Regions from separate parts of the Homo sapiens genome. Here region 2 is linked to region 1. The links are contacts of gene promoters, found by promoter capture Hi-C in human tissues and cell types (Jung and others, 2019). All regions are on one chromosome and are shown on one strand. Each heading gives the region's core, a stretch centred on a gene start or on the middle of the fragment in contact. The rest is flanking DNA. Distances are from core to core; before and after follow the strand shown.

Region 1 (6,736 bases), core at 2,652-5,151:
ACAGATATTCACTGCCACAAATTTATGGTGCAAAAAGAGGAACTATGTTTTCATGAATCTATGTAACTCACCAATTATCTACTACATTTTCTTGTGGAAAGGTATTTAATTTTTACAGCCAAAAAGGAAGAGAGATTGTCTCGCTCTGACTCCCAGGCTGCAGTGCAGTGGTGCGATCTCGGCTCACTGCAACCTCCACCTCCTGGGTTCAAGCGATTCTCCTGCCTCAGCCTCCCAAGTAGCTGGGACTACAGGCACGTGCCACCATGCCCGGCTGATTTTTGTATTTTTAGTAGAGATGAGGTTTCACCATATTGACCAGACTGGTCCTGAACTCGTGACCTCGTGATCTGCCCACCTCAGTCTTTCAAAATGCTGGGATAATAGGTGTGAGCCACCCCACCTGGCCCTTATTCTTTTCCTTAGTAGGATTCTAACAGCTAAACCTTGGAATTCTGTTTGAAATTACCCAGCCATAAACACAACTGACAAATTTTCTAAACTCACTCTGGGAAAGAAAAAGGTAAATAAAAACTTTTAACAAATAGAATATATAATTAAATTTTTTTTTTCTGAAACCCAACTCTTACATGCTCTTTGCACATATTTTCTTCCCTTTCAAATGCTACTAATAAAATGCAATTTACATTTAAAAAAACTAAAGTCACTGACTGGGCGTGGTGGCTCACGCCTGTAATCCCAGCACTTTGGGAGGCTGAGGAGGGCGGATCACGAGGTCAGGAGATCAAGACCATCCTGGCTAACACGGTGAAACCCCGTCTCTACTAAAAATACAAAAAAATTAGCTGGGCGTGGTGGCGGGCACCTGTAATCCCAGCTACTCGGGAGGCTGAGGCAGGAGAATGGCTTGAACCCGGGAGGCAGAGCTTGCAGTGACCCCAGATCATGTCACTGCACTCCAGCCTGGGCAACAAATCGAGACTCCGTCTCAAAAAAAAAAAAAAAAAAAAACTAAAGTCAAAATAAGTGCACTAATCTTTTCAAGGTGACAAACTAGGGAGTGGCAATGCTGATTAGAAAACAGATGTGTTGGCCCAGGGCAGTGGCTCATGCCTGTAATTCCAGCACTTTGGGAGGCCAAGAGGGGCGGATCACCTGAGGTCGGGAGTTTGAGACAAGCCTGGCCAACACGGGAAAACCCCGTTTCTACTAAAAATACAAAATTAGCTGGGCATGGTGGTGCATGCCTGTAATCCCTGCTACTCAGGAGGCTGAGGCAGGAGAATCGCTTGAACCTGGGAGGCGGAGGTTGCCATGAGCCGAGATGGCACCATTGAACTCCAGCCTGGGCAACAAGAGTGAAACCCCATCTCAAAAAAAAAAGAAAACAGGTGTGTCTAATTCATGTGTCAAGTCAGGTCACCAATCACTTGAGAGATTCTCCCACCCCATCCTGCTCACTTAAGTGCTCAATGACCACCCTCTCACTGCACTATGCCTCAGTGACTGCCCCAAGTGCATTTTACTTTGCAAGTTTTTGCATCATTTCACTGAGGTCACTTTTTTTTGTCTTTTGAAATGCTATTTTTTCTTTCACAAATCTTAGACAATTCAGGGGACAGAAATTATCTCTGTGTTTTTCCCTCAATACCAGCATCTGATTGGCTGACCAGCAATATGTCTCCAAGAAATGGAAGCTGGGTTGAGTAAAGGCAATCTTCATGTCTCAAAGGCTTAGTTTTTCTTTTTTTGAGATGGAGTTTCACTCTTGGTGCCCAGGCTGGAATCCAATGGTGCGATCTCGGCTCTCAGCCTCCAAAATAGCTCGGATTACAGGCAGCCACCACCACGCCCAGCTAATTTTTTTGTATTTAGTAGAGATGGGGTTTCACCATGTTAGTCAGGCTGGTCGCGAACTCCTGACCTCAGGTGATCCACCGCCTCAGACTCCCAAAGTGCTGGGATTACAGGTGTGCACCACCGTGCACGCAAGGGTTAGTTTTTCAAAGGAAGAGCGCAGGGGAGAGTCCTATCAGTCCAAGGGCATTCATCTGTTTCCATTGAGAGGCTACACTCCATACCTCAGGTTGTTTTATGAAAGAAAATAACCCAGTAGATTATATTCACTAGACACTCGAGCAGACATAGCCATGGTAGATATATTGGTTTATTCACAGAAACTACTGAAGCCCAGGACCAGAAAAAACTGAAGGTGGCTGAGGCCACATCACCCATAAAGTTTCCAAAGGGAAACCTTGACCCAAAAATATTCTGATACTATCTCTGTGCCTAGAGAAGATTTTTAAAAATGAGGCGAAAAGATTTTTTACAATACAGTATCAGGGAATTGTTCTTCTTTTTCTTCTCATAAAAAATATTTTCAAACAGAAAACGATTTTTTTAAGTGCCATTCAATGTCAAAAAATGCTTAGTTAAAATACAGTATCTAAAGTGTACAATAAAAGACAAATAGTTGATAATGTGAATTAGAAAGGGGAAGCTGGCATTTGAGAATGTGAGAAGAAACTGGAAATTTAGTATTTTACTGCAAGTCATAGTTAGTCTGGAGGAATGGGATGAGGGGTAGGCTTGAGACCCAGCTTGAGAGAACTGTGAAAAATGCAGGGGAAAATCAGTCTCCTGTGGAGTGTGAAAATAACTAAGTAGCAGGCAATTAGACGGAGGTTACTCTAGTCCCTGGGTTCCTATTTTTTAAAAACTCTAACTCAAATGCATTTTTTTGCAAATTACTGAATTGAGGGAAACAAAAATTTAGGCTTAACCAATCATAAACTGCCAATTAACCTCTGATTACATAACCAGGAAATGTCCACCTTAATTGTACAAGTCAAGTAACTATGAACTGTACCTAACCAATTATTTAATTTGGTTTTCTTCATCATGTACCTTTAAAAGTCTTTCCTTCAAGCTGCTCTCATAAAGTCACAAGCTCCAAACCACAGCTGAATGCTCCACAATTTTTGAATCACTCTTTGATTAAATTCTCCAATATTTTTGTGGTGATCCCCATAATTTATTTATTTATTTAACTTATTTATTTATATATTTTTTAAGACGGAGTTTCGGTCTTGTTAACCAGGCTGGAGTGCAATGGCGTCATCTCGGCTCACTGCAACCGCCACCTCCCGGGTTCAAGCGGTTCTCCTGCCTCAGCCTTCTGAGTATCTGGGATTACAGGCATGTGCCACCACGCCCGGCTAATTTTGTATTTTTAGTAGAAACGGGGTTTCACCATGTTGGTCAGGCTGGTCTTGAACTCCTGACCTCAGGTGATCCACCCACCTCGGTCTCCCAAAGTGCTGGTATTACTGACCTGAGCCACCGCGCCCGGCCCTCCCATAAAATTTTAATAGGAGAAAACAGGAACTGGGAACCCCACGGACCAAAACTCTTCCCATTAATGAACCCGCACCCTGAGTCAGGATTCTCCGGTGACGGCCCTCCTGTGGTCCCTGCACAATCTGAGAGAAATGCGGCGCTGCGGGTACAGAGCTGCCCAGAGAGGGCTACAGGCCAGGGCACAGTCACTAGGCAGAGAAGAGACGGGATGCCCCGGGGCTGGCTGTCAGCGCGCCGCCATCTTATGGCTGCAGGGGACTGAGCCGAGCTGGGGAAGGAGAACTCGGGGTGCAGATTGTGGAGCTGACTGCGGGGAGGCCTGAGTCCCGCCATAGCCATTTCCCACGGGTTCCAACCAGCCCCTTCCCCCTCTCGGGATGTCGCACCCGTAACTCTCACCATTTCTAGGCTTCCAGGGGGTCCTGGAGTCTTAGCTGTGGATCTCTCAATTTCTGCAGGTCACAGGCCCACAGAGGCTGGACCTCTAGGAGCAGAGGACACAGAGCAATGAAAGCGAGACCTGGAGCTCCGGCTGCAGCGAGAGACAAAGGCGCCGCCAAATCCCGGAAGCCATCTTGTCTGCTCCAGCTGCGTGCCTGATTGGACGGTTCCCAGCCCAGCGTGCCTGATTGGACAACGTTTAAGGTCCTGACCCTTCAGGCCCTGAGTGACAGAAGATGTGATCAGACACTGGGCTGAGTGAAGACTGATAGCCTGCGCTGCAGCCTTTTCAGCCGGGGCTTCCTCTTTTAGCTGAGCCAGGCCCATCCCATAGGGTATTTGTATTTAACCTTGTGTATAAGGTCATATACATTTATAAATGATATATGGCTACTCACAAAGAAAAATAATATAATAATAATTATTTTAGAATTTCAGACTTTATGACCTTCCTGGCTTCTGGTCCTTTGAGTAGGCAGCCTGAGAATTTTAAAAAGAGGCAATCCTCAAATAAAATGTGAGCCACATGTGAATTTTAAATTTTCTAGTAGTCAAACTTTAAAAAGAAAAAAACAAGTGGAATTGATTGTAACAATCTAACCCAATATATCCAAAGTACTATCATTTTAGTATGAGAGCAATATGAAATTATTGATGAAATACACATATATATGTATATATGTGTATACACACACACACACACACACACACACACACACACATATATGGAACTAAATCTTTGAAAATAACTCTATTTTACCTAACACATTGCAATTCAGACCAGCCACATTCCAGGCACCCAGTAGCCACACGTGGCCAATAGCTGCCACATTAAAATGCAGCTCTGATGTCAGGGGGGTGAAGAAGAGCCTGAACATCCCTTTTTTGCCAGAGGTGAGGGGACAGCCTCTCTCTACCAACATCTCTCTTCAATTCCAAGGAAAAAACAGTTAGTGACCATAGAAAGAACAGAGGACAGATAGAATAAAATAACCACAGGTCGACCTGTGGTTACCTCTGGTTATTTTATTAACTACTGCTGCCCACCTGTTGCTCACCTTAATTCCAAACATCAGACAGTGAACAAAGAATGATGAAGCCACAAAACAAGAAAACTCTGTATCTTCAGATCTGTCCACAGTCTTAACCTCCAATGTTTAGATATGGAGAAAATAGATTAAAGGCAAACTTATTTTGCTATTTGGCCTTGGCCCTAACGGTCAGCCTGTGGTTATCTGTTTTCTCCTGTGGTGTGGTGAACTGTGTGAGTATAAGCACCAATCACACGCAGACATGTCTACATGTATTTTTGCATTATTCAATATTCTCTTACAAGACATAAGACTTTAAGTCAAGAATAAAGGTAATGTGAGTCTTTTTTCTTGCATTGGCGCTACCCACAGGGTGCATCATGACATATTGCTAAGTTCTGCATTCAGGTTATGTGGCTCTCTTCTTTTACCCAGGCCCAGAATATTTTGCACAATAGAACATATTACTAGGCCCAACATATATAAAATGGGAGGCCCTTGCCTGAGCCTTTTTTACAGAGGGCCTTGTGACATATCTCTGCATCAATCACCTAAGAGATGCAACTGTCCATTTTTCCCTGCACTCTGCCCACAGGAAAAATTGTGACTTATCATTAAGCCTAGGTAGCAGGTGATGTGTCTCTCCTGCCTGGGCCTTGAGCCACAGAAAGCATTGTTACCTATTGCTGGGCTCAGCACCCAGGTGATGTGACTCTGCTGCCTGTGTCCTGCTGTCAGGAGAAGGTTGTAACATATTCCTATTTAGGTGATGTGACACTCCTGTCTGGTCCCTGCCCTCAGAAAATATTGTGACATATTCCTGGCCCAAGTATGAGAGTCAACATGTCCTTCGGGAACACTTCAGGACCTTTAACCTTGGGTACATCATCTCACAATTCAGAAGGGCCCTTCCAAACTCAGGAATGAGCAAGTGGCTGTTGGCTGTCTAGGTTCTCCATGAGTTCACATTTATTACTGAATTTATGTCTGCTTAAATATCAGGTTTGTTTCTTCAATTTAGGTGTATAACACTGATAACTGAGGGGTAATCATAGGTAATCTGACTTGAATCACAAAGTTTATTCAAATGGCATATCTAAAAAATTTTAGTACTGGTTTATTTAACACAAAAATGTGTCAGAGGCCAGGCGCAGTGGCTGATGCCTATAATCCCAGCACATTGGGAAGCCAAGGAGGGCAGATCACGAGGTCAAGAGATCAAGACCATCCTGGCCAACATGGCAAAACCCCGACTCTATTAAAAATACAAAAATTAGTTGGGTGTGGTGGCACATGCCTGCAGTCCCAGCTACTCGGGAGGCTGAGGCAGGAAAATCGCTTGAACTGGAGAGGCGGAGGTTGCAGTGAGCTGAGATCACGCCACTGAGACTCCAGCCTGGTGACAGAGCATGACTCTGTCTCAAAAAAAAAAAAAAAAAGTGGCAGAGTATTTTCCTGATGTTCAACTATTTTTGTTTTTCCTGAATTAGCAGTTTTATGAATCAGTGTGTTCTTTAGAATTCTCACAATCCTTACCCAGTCCAAACAATATAATTTTAAAATTATCAGAAACCTGTACTCAACTTGTCTGGGCTATTTTCATCTTTTCATGAATCTCCTTACAGACACAGTACTCTAGGATTTTGCATGTTTTTGAAGTTTGTAGAAACTACATCAGAATTAAACCATTAACTGTAGAAATGACTTCAAATAATTATAAAGAAACAAATGAAACAAACTTATTATGTCTGTGACCTGCAATAACTTATCATAACCATAATTATGACTAATAGCTTATACTCAGATATATAAGATTTTTAGAAATTTCATAATATTATGAAATAAATGTTAATATATATTAAAATAGAAGTTGAAGAAGATCAAACATTATCTTTAATTCAACAATGCTTTTCATGTAATTTAACATATCAAATAATTACGTT
Region 2 (6,736 bases), core at 1,638-4,137, 330 kb before region 1:
ATATGAGTTATCTTATCTGTAGTAAGGTGTGAAAACTGGTTAAAGGCTTTGCCAAATTTTTCCTGTTTGTAGGGTTGCTGTCCAGTATGAATTTTCTTATGTCTGGTTAGGGCTGAGGACCAGAAAAAGGATTTGCCACATTCTTCACATTTGTAGAGTTTTACTCCAGTATGAATTACCTTATGTTTAGTAAAGGTTGAAGACCGGTTAAAAGATTTGCCACATTCTTTATATTTGTAGGGTTTCTCTCTAGTATGAATTTTCTTTTTTTTTTTTTTGAGACGGAGTCTCGCTCTGTCGCCCAGGCTTGAGTGCAGTGGCGTGATCTCGGCTCACTGCAAGCTCCGCCTCCCGGGTTCACGCCATTCTCCTGCCTCAGCCTCTCGCATAGCTGGGACTACAGGCGCCCGCCACCACGCCCGGCTAATTTTTTGTATTTTTTAGTAGAGAAGGGGTTTCACTGTGTTAGCCAGGATGGTCTCCATCTCCTGACCTCGTGATCCGCCCGCCTCGGCCTCCCAAAGTAGTGGGATTACAGGTGTGATAGTATGAATTTTCTTATGGTTAGTAAGGATTGAAGACTGGTTAAAGGCTTTGCCACATTTTTCACATTTGTAGGGTTTCTCTCCAGTGTGAATTATCTTATGTTTAGTAAGAGCTGAGGACTCTTTAAAGGCTTTGCCACATTCTCCACATTTGTAGGGTTTCTCTCCGGTGTGCAACCTCTTATGTCTAGTTAGGGTTGAAGATTGGCTAAATGCTTTGCCACATTCTTCACATTTGTAGGGTTTCTCTCTAGTATGAATTCTCTTATGTCCATTTAGGGTTGAGGATGATATAAATGCTTTGCCACATTCTTCACACTTGTAAGGTTTCTCTCCAGTATGAATTATCTTATGTGTAGTAAGCTTTGAGGATCGATTAAAAGCTTTGCCACATTCTTCACATTTGTATGGTTTCTCTCCAGTGTGCATCCTCGTATGTCTAGTTAGGGTTGAGGATTGGCTAAATGCTTTGCCACATTCTTCACATTTGTAGGGTTTCTCTCCAGTATGAATTATCTTATGTTCAGTAAGAGTTGAAGATTTCCTAAAAGCTTTGCCACATTCTTCACATTTGTAGGGTTTCTCTCCAGTATGAATTATCTTATGTGTAGTAAGGGTTGAGGATTGGCTAAAAGCTTTGCCACATTCTTCACATTTGTAGGGTTTCTCTCCAGTGTGCATCCTCTTATGTGTAGTAAGGTGTGAAGGCTGGCTAAATGCTTTGCCACATTCTTCACATTTGTAGGTTTTCTCTCTGGTATGAATTCTCTTATGTTCAGTAAGGGTTGAGGACCAGATAAATGCTTTGTCACATTCTTCACTCTTGGAAGGTTTCTCTTTAGTATGAATTATCTTATGTGTCGTAAGATTTGAAGATTGATTAAAAGCTTTGCCACATTCCTCACATTTGTAGAGTTTCTCTCCAGCATGTATTATTTTATGTTTAGCAAGGGCTGAGGAGTGCTTAAAAGCTTTGCCACATTCTTTACATTTGTAGGGTTTCTCTCCAGTATGAATTGTCTTATGCTTAGTAAGGGTTGAGGAACGGCTAAAAGCTTTGCCACATTCTTCACATTTGTAGGGCTTCTCTCCAGTGTGTATCCTCTTATGTCTAGTTAGGGTTGAAGACCATATAAATGCTTTGCCACATTCTTTACATTTGAAGGGTTTCTCTCTAGTATGAATTCTTTTATGTTTAGTAAGGCTTGAGGACCAGTTAAATGCTTTGCCACATTCTTCACACTTGTAAGGTTTCTCTCCAGTATGAATAAACTTATGTATAGTAAGATTTGAAGATCGATTAAAAGCTTTGCCACATTCTTCACATTTGTAGAGTTTCTCTCCAGCATGTATTATTTTATGTTTAGTAAGGGTTGAGAGTCGCTTAAAAGTTTTGTCACATTCTTTACATTTGTAGGGTTTCTCTTCAGTATGAGTTATCTTATGATTAGCAAGGGTTGAGGAATTGCTAAAAGCTTTGCCACATTCTTTACATTTGTAGGGTTTCTCTCCAGTATGAATTCTCTTATGTTTAGCAAGGGCTGAAGAATGGCTAAAAGCTTTGCCACATTCTTCACATTTGTAGGGTTTCTCTCCAGTGTGTATCCTCTTATGTCTTCTTAGGGTTGAGGACCATAGAAATGCTTTGCCACATTCTTCACACTTGTAAGACTTCTCTCCAGTATGAATTATCTTATGTGTAGAAAGACTTGAGGAATGATTAAAAGCTTTGCCACATTCTTCACATTTGTAGAGTTTCTTTCCAGCATGAATTATTTTATGTGTAGTAAGGGTTGAGAATTGCTTAAAAGCTTTGCCACATTCTTTACATTTGTAGGGTTTCTCTCTACTATGAATTATCTTATGTTTATTAAGGGTTAAGGATTGTCTAAAAGCTTTGCCACATTCTTCAAATTTGTAGGGTTTCTCTCCAGTATGAATTATCTTATGTTTAGTAAGGGTTGAGGATTGCCTAAAAGCTTTGCCACATTCTTCACATTTGTAGGGCTTCTCTCCAGTGTGTATCCTCTTATGTCTAGTTAGGGTTGAAGACCATATAAATGCTTTGCCACATTCTTTACATTTGAAGGGTTTCTCTCTAGTATGAAATCTTTTATGTTTAGTAAGGCTTGAGGACCAGTTAAATGCTTTGCCACATTCTTCACACTTGTAAGGTTTCTCTCCAGTATGAATAAACTTATGTATAGTAAGATTTGAAGATCGATTAAAAGCTTTGCCACATTCTTCACATTTGTAGAGTTTCTCTCCAGCATGTATTATTTTATGTTTAGTAAGGGTTGAGAGTCGCTTAAAAGCTTTGTCACATTCTTTACATTTGTAGGGTTTCTCTTCAGTATGAGTTATCTTATGATTAGCAAGGGTTGAGGAATTGCTAAAAGCTTTGCCACATTCTTTACATTTGTAGGGTTTCTCTCCAGTATGAATTCTCTTATGTTTAGCAAGGGTTGAAGAACGGCTAAAAGCTTTGCCACATTCTTCACATTTGTAGGGTTTCTCTCCAGTATGAATTCTCTTATGTTTAGCAAGGGTTGAAGAATGGCTAAAAGCTTTGCCACATTCTTCACATTTGTAGGGTTTCTCTCCAGTGTGTATCCTCTTATGTCTAGTTAGGGTTGAGGACCATAGAAATGCTTTGCCACATTCTTCACACTTGTAGATTTTCTCTTTAGCACAGATTATTTTATGTGTAGTAAGGGTTGAGAGCTGCTTAAAAGCTTTGCCACATTCTTCACATTTGTAGGGTTTATCTTCAGTATGAATTTCCTTATGATTAGTAAGGGTTGAGGACCAATGAAAGGTTTTTTCACATTCTTTACATTTACAGGACTTCTCTGTAATATAAACGCATTTATGTTGGGTTTTGTGTAAACGGATGCAAAATGACTTGACACATTTTTTACATTTGAAGCATTTCTTTCCAGTATGTCTTATCGTATGTCTGTTTGAATTTAAAAATTTATAGAAGACTTTCAAATATTTCCCACATTGAAATACTTTGCTCTGGGCAGTTGTGAGACACTGGTTAAGTTTATTATAACCTTCTTTGTGCACCTTACACTCATCCACACTTTTACAACCTTTTCTTAACTGTAAATTCTCATGTCCACATTTTTCATATTTTCTCAGTAATACTTTTTGAAAAGAATCTTCCATGCTCTGCTCTGGCCAAAAGTCTTGAGGAAAATGAGGACATATACCTGAAAAAAAAAAACTAAAAATAATAAATTACTCCACTCACCTAGACTCACATGAATATAGTTTAAAAATCTTACCTACAAAATTATACAAACTACATAAACAATATGGCACTGCAAAATACCACAGGCCCTAATTCTATTTTTGTTTTTTTGTTTGTTTGTTTTTGAGACGGAGTCTCGCTCTGTCACCCAGGCTGGAGTGCAGTGGTGCAATCTTGGCTCACAGCAAGCCCTGCCTCCTGGGTTCACGCCATTACCCTGCACAGGCCCTAATTCTTTCATAGACATATATATGTAACAAAAACATACAGATCAAATTACATCTATGGAAAATTTATGAATGAGTTAAGTGTGTGCAGTGTCTCAGGGGAGCACAATGCAAAAAACCACACAGAAAAAAAAGAAAAGTCTGTTAAATTTACTTGACACAGCTTTTCCTGCTTCCCATTATAACAGAGTGCCTTTAGAAGTAAATTGCCAACTCCTGGTTTATGTTTTAAAAGAAAGGTAAAATAGTAGCCCATTCATTTTTATTTACAGCTTTTAGGGGCTTTTCCTGACACTGATTTCCCTCTCTCATGACATAAGTGTTGAAAGAAACCGTGGCATAATTTGGAATGAAAGTTTGAGTCTGCTGAGACCAAAGAAAAATGTTACAGCAGCAGAGAGACTGCAGTACCACAGAAAGGAAACAGGCATAGCAAGTGATTACTGACTCCTACAAAGTAACATAAGTAAACACTCTTAATTAAGACATAAACACAAAATTTCAGACAACACATATCCTAAGAACATATTTGAGAAATTCCCATAATCATTAGACAAGACAGTTGTTTTCAAACTATGCCAGGACAAAACTACATTATAAAGACTTTGACAGTTAGCTTTTTTAAATGTCCAAATCTCAATCAAAGATTATAATGTATACAAAATAGGGCAATATGATGCCACCAAAATATTATAAAATTTTCTGAAAGAAACCATAAAAGAGATGTATACATTAATTTTATGAATTGGTAATGAATAATACTCACTGATTAAAATAGGAACAGAGACAACTATGGAAAATCGGAAAAATGAGGATGAGAACAAAAATATTTAAGATTTCAAAAAAGCAGAAATTGTGGAGGTAAAAATATAAAAACTGATAGATCCTAAAAGTAAGAAAAAATGATGTAAAAATAAAGAAGCTCAACAAACTAGGATCACAGAAAGATATTTATAACAAACACATATATAAGCACAATTTCAAAAGTCACAGACAAAAAAAAAATCTTTGAAGCTGCAAAATAAAAGTGATGTGCCAGGCCAGGCCAGGCATGGTGGCTCACACCTGTATTTTAGGCACTTTGGGAGGCCAAGGAGGACAGATCACCTAAGGTCAGGAGTTCAAGGCCAGCCTGGCCAACATGGTGAAACCCCGTCTCTACTAAAACTACAAAAATCAGCCAGGTGTGGTGACACATGCCTGTAATCCCAGCTACTTGGGAGGCTAAGGCAGATTATGAGGTCAGGAGTTTGAGATCAGCCTGACCAACATGGAGAAAACCCCTCTCTACTAAAAATACAAAATTAGCTGTGCGTGGTGGCACATGCCTGTAATCCCAGCTACTCAAAGACTGAGGCAGGAGAATCACTTGAACCCGGAGGCAGTGGTTGTGGTGAGCCGAGATCGCGCCATTGCACTCCAGCCTGGGCAACAAGAGCAAAATTCCATCTCAAGAAAAAAAAAATGGTAGTTGTTTAATATGTATTAAGATTTAGCTTGCAAGGTAAAAACATTTTAGCAATATGTTGCATGAAAATTTCAAGATGATTAATATGACTAAATTAAATATTTATTTTCTGGTAAATTTTGTTTTTTTTTTGACAAGTAAAAATAATAATAACTAAAAGTACAGAGTTATGATAGTTTTAAATTATATTCACATTTAAAAGTGTTTCTCCCATAAAAAAATATAGATTCAGAAATAAATAGGATGTTGAAATTATAAGAATTTTATGACTACTCAGCTACACAGGATTAGAAAATCACTCACAACAAACCCACACAACAAATATACAAGTTATAAAAAATACAACGATAATATTTATACAGGCAAACAAACATAGAGATAATTCTATTGGAAAAAGACATATGGCTCAATCATATTTGATGTTGCTCCAGACTGTCTTAAATTGCATAAAGTTAAATATTGACATGCACAATTATTATACTAAAATATCAAAGCACAATTAACAGATGTGTAGTGGCATACCCTAAAATATATAACACAAAAATATACAATTGCAAAACCAAATTAAAACATGGAATGTAAACTTTATTAGGCACCATCAACTAGATTAACATATTCATTAAAAAATCTTAGAAGAAGAATATGGGAAAAAATAATACAGAGATTACTTGAAAATAAAAAAAGGTGAGAAATTCCCAAATTTTGATGTAATAAAAGAAAAAAAATTCTAACTAAGAATACTTGATTTAAATTTATTTCACTTTAAAAAGAAGATGAAAATAAAAAATTTCCAAAATAAAAAGTGAGCGTGTTCATCACCACTAGCACAGTTCTACAAAAAAAAAAAAAAATGCTACATGGTGTCCAGGCACCGTGGGCTGATGCCTGTAATCCTACAGTTTTAGGAGGCAAGCCTGTCAGAACACTAGAAACCAGGAGTTTCAGATCAGCCTGAGTAATGTGAGACTCTGTAAATAACAATAAGAAATGCTGAAATGAGTCAGTAAAATGAGTCAGTTTTGTTTTAAAAAAATACTGGACAGTATCATAAAACCATATATAAAATAAAGCTCTCTATTAAATGTAAATACACAGACAAATATAGAAGTCTTTTTTTTTTTTTTAATTGATCATTCTTGGGTGTTTCTCGCAGAGAGGGATTTGGCAGGGTCATAGGACAATAGTGAAGGGAAGGTCAGCAGATAAACAAGTGAACAAAGGTCTCTGGTTTTCCTAG

What was found. Contacts are between HindIII fragments. The study calls those that stand out against the background at their distance.
Region 2: a contact is called between a fragment that was not itself captured here and the fragment with the promoter of ZNF675 in region 1, in 1 of the 25 tissues and cell types used here (small bowel).

What each region holds. Positions count from the first base shown.
Region 1 is chr19:23,683,311-23,690,046 of GRCh38, forward strand. It overlaps ZNF675 (zinc finger protein 675), which reads right to left and starts at 3,902. Exons shown (of 4, transcript NM_138330.3): 1 at 3,721-3,902. The coding sequence starts at 3,723. RefSeq lists enhancers at 2,338-3,308, 3,440-3,829, 4,120-4,169. The HindIII fragment of the contact is 16,679 bases long and covers 1-6,736 here.
Region 2 is chr19:23,358,963-23,365,698 of GRCh38, forward strand. ZNF91 (zinc finger protein 91) reads right to left here. Exons shown (of 4, transcript NM_003430.4): 4 at 1-3,763. The coding sequence ends at 441. Among named protein-coding and RNA genes, the nearest start is that of ZNF91, 33 kb to the right of the region's middle. The HindIII fragment of the contact is 5,150 bases long and covers 313-5,462 here.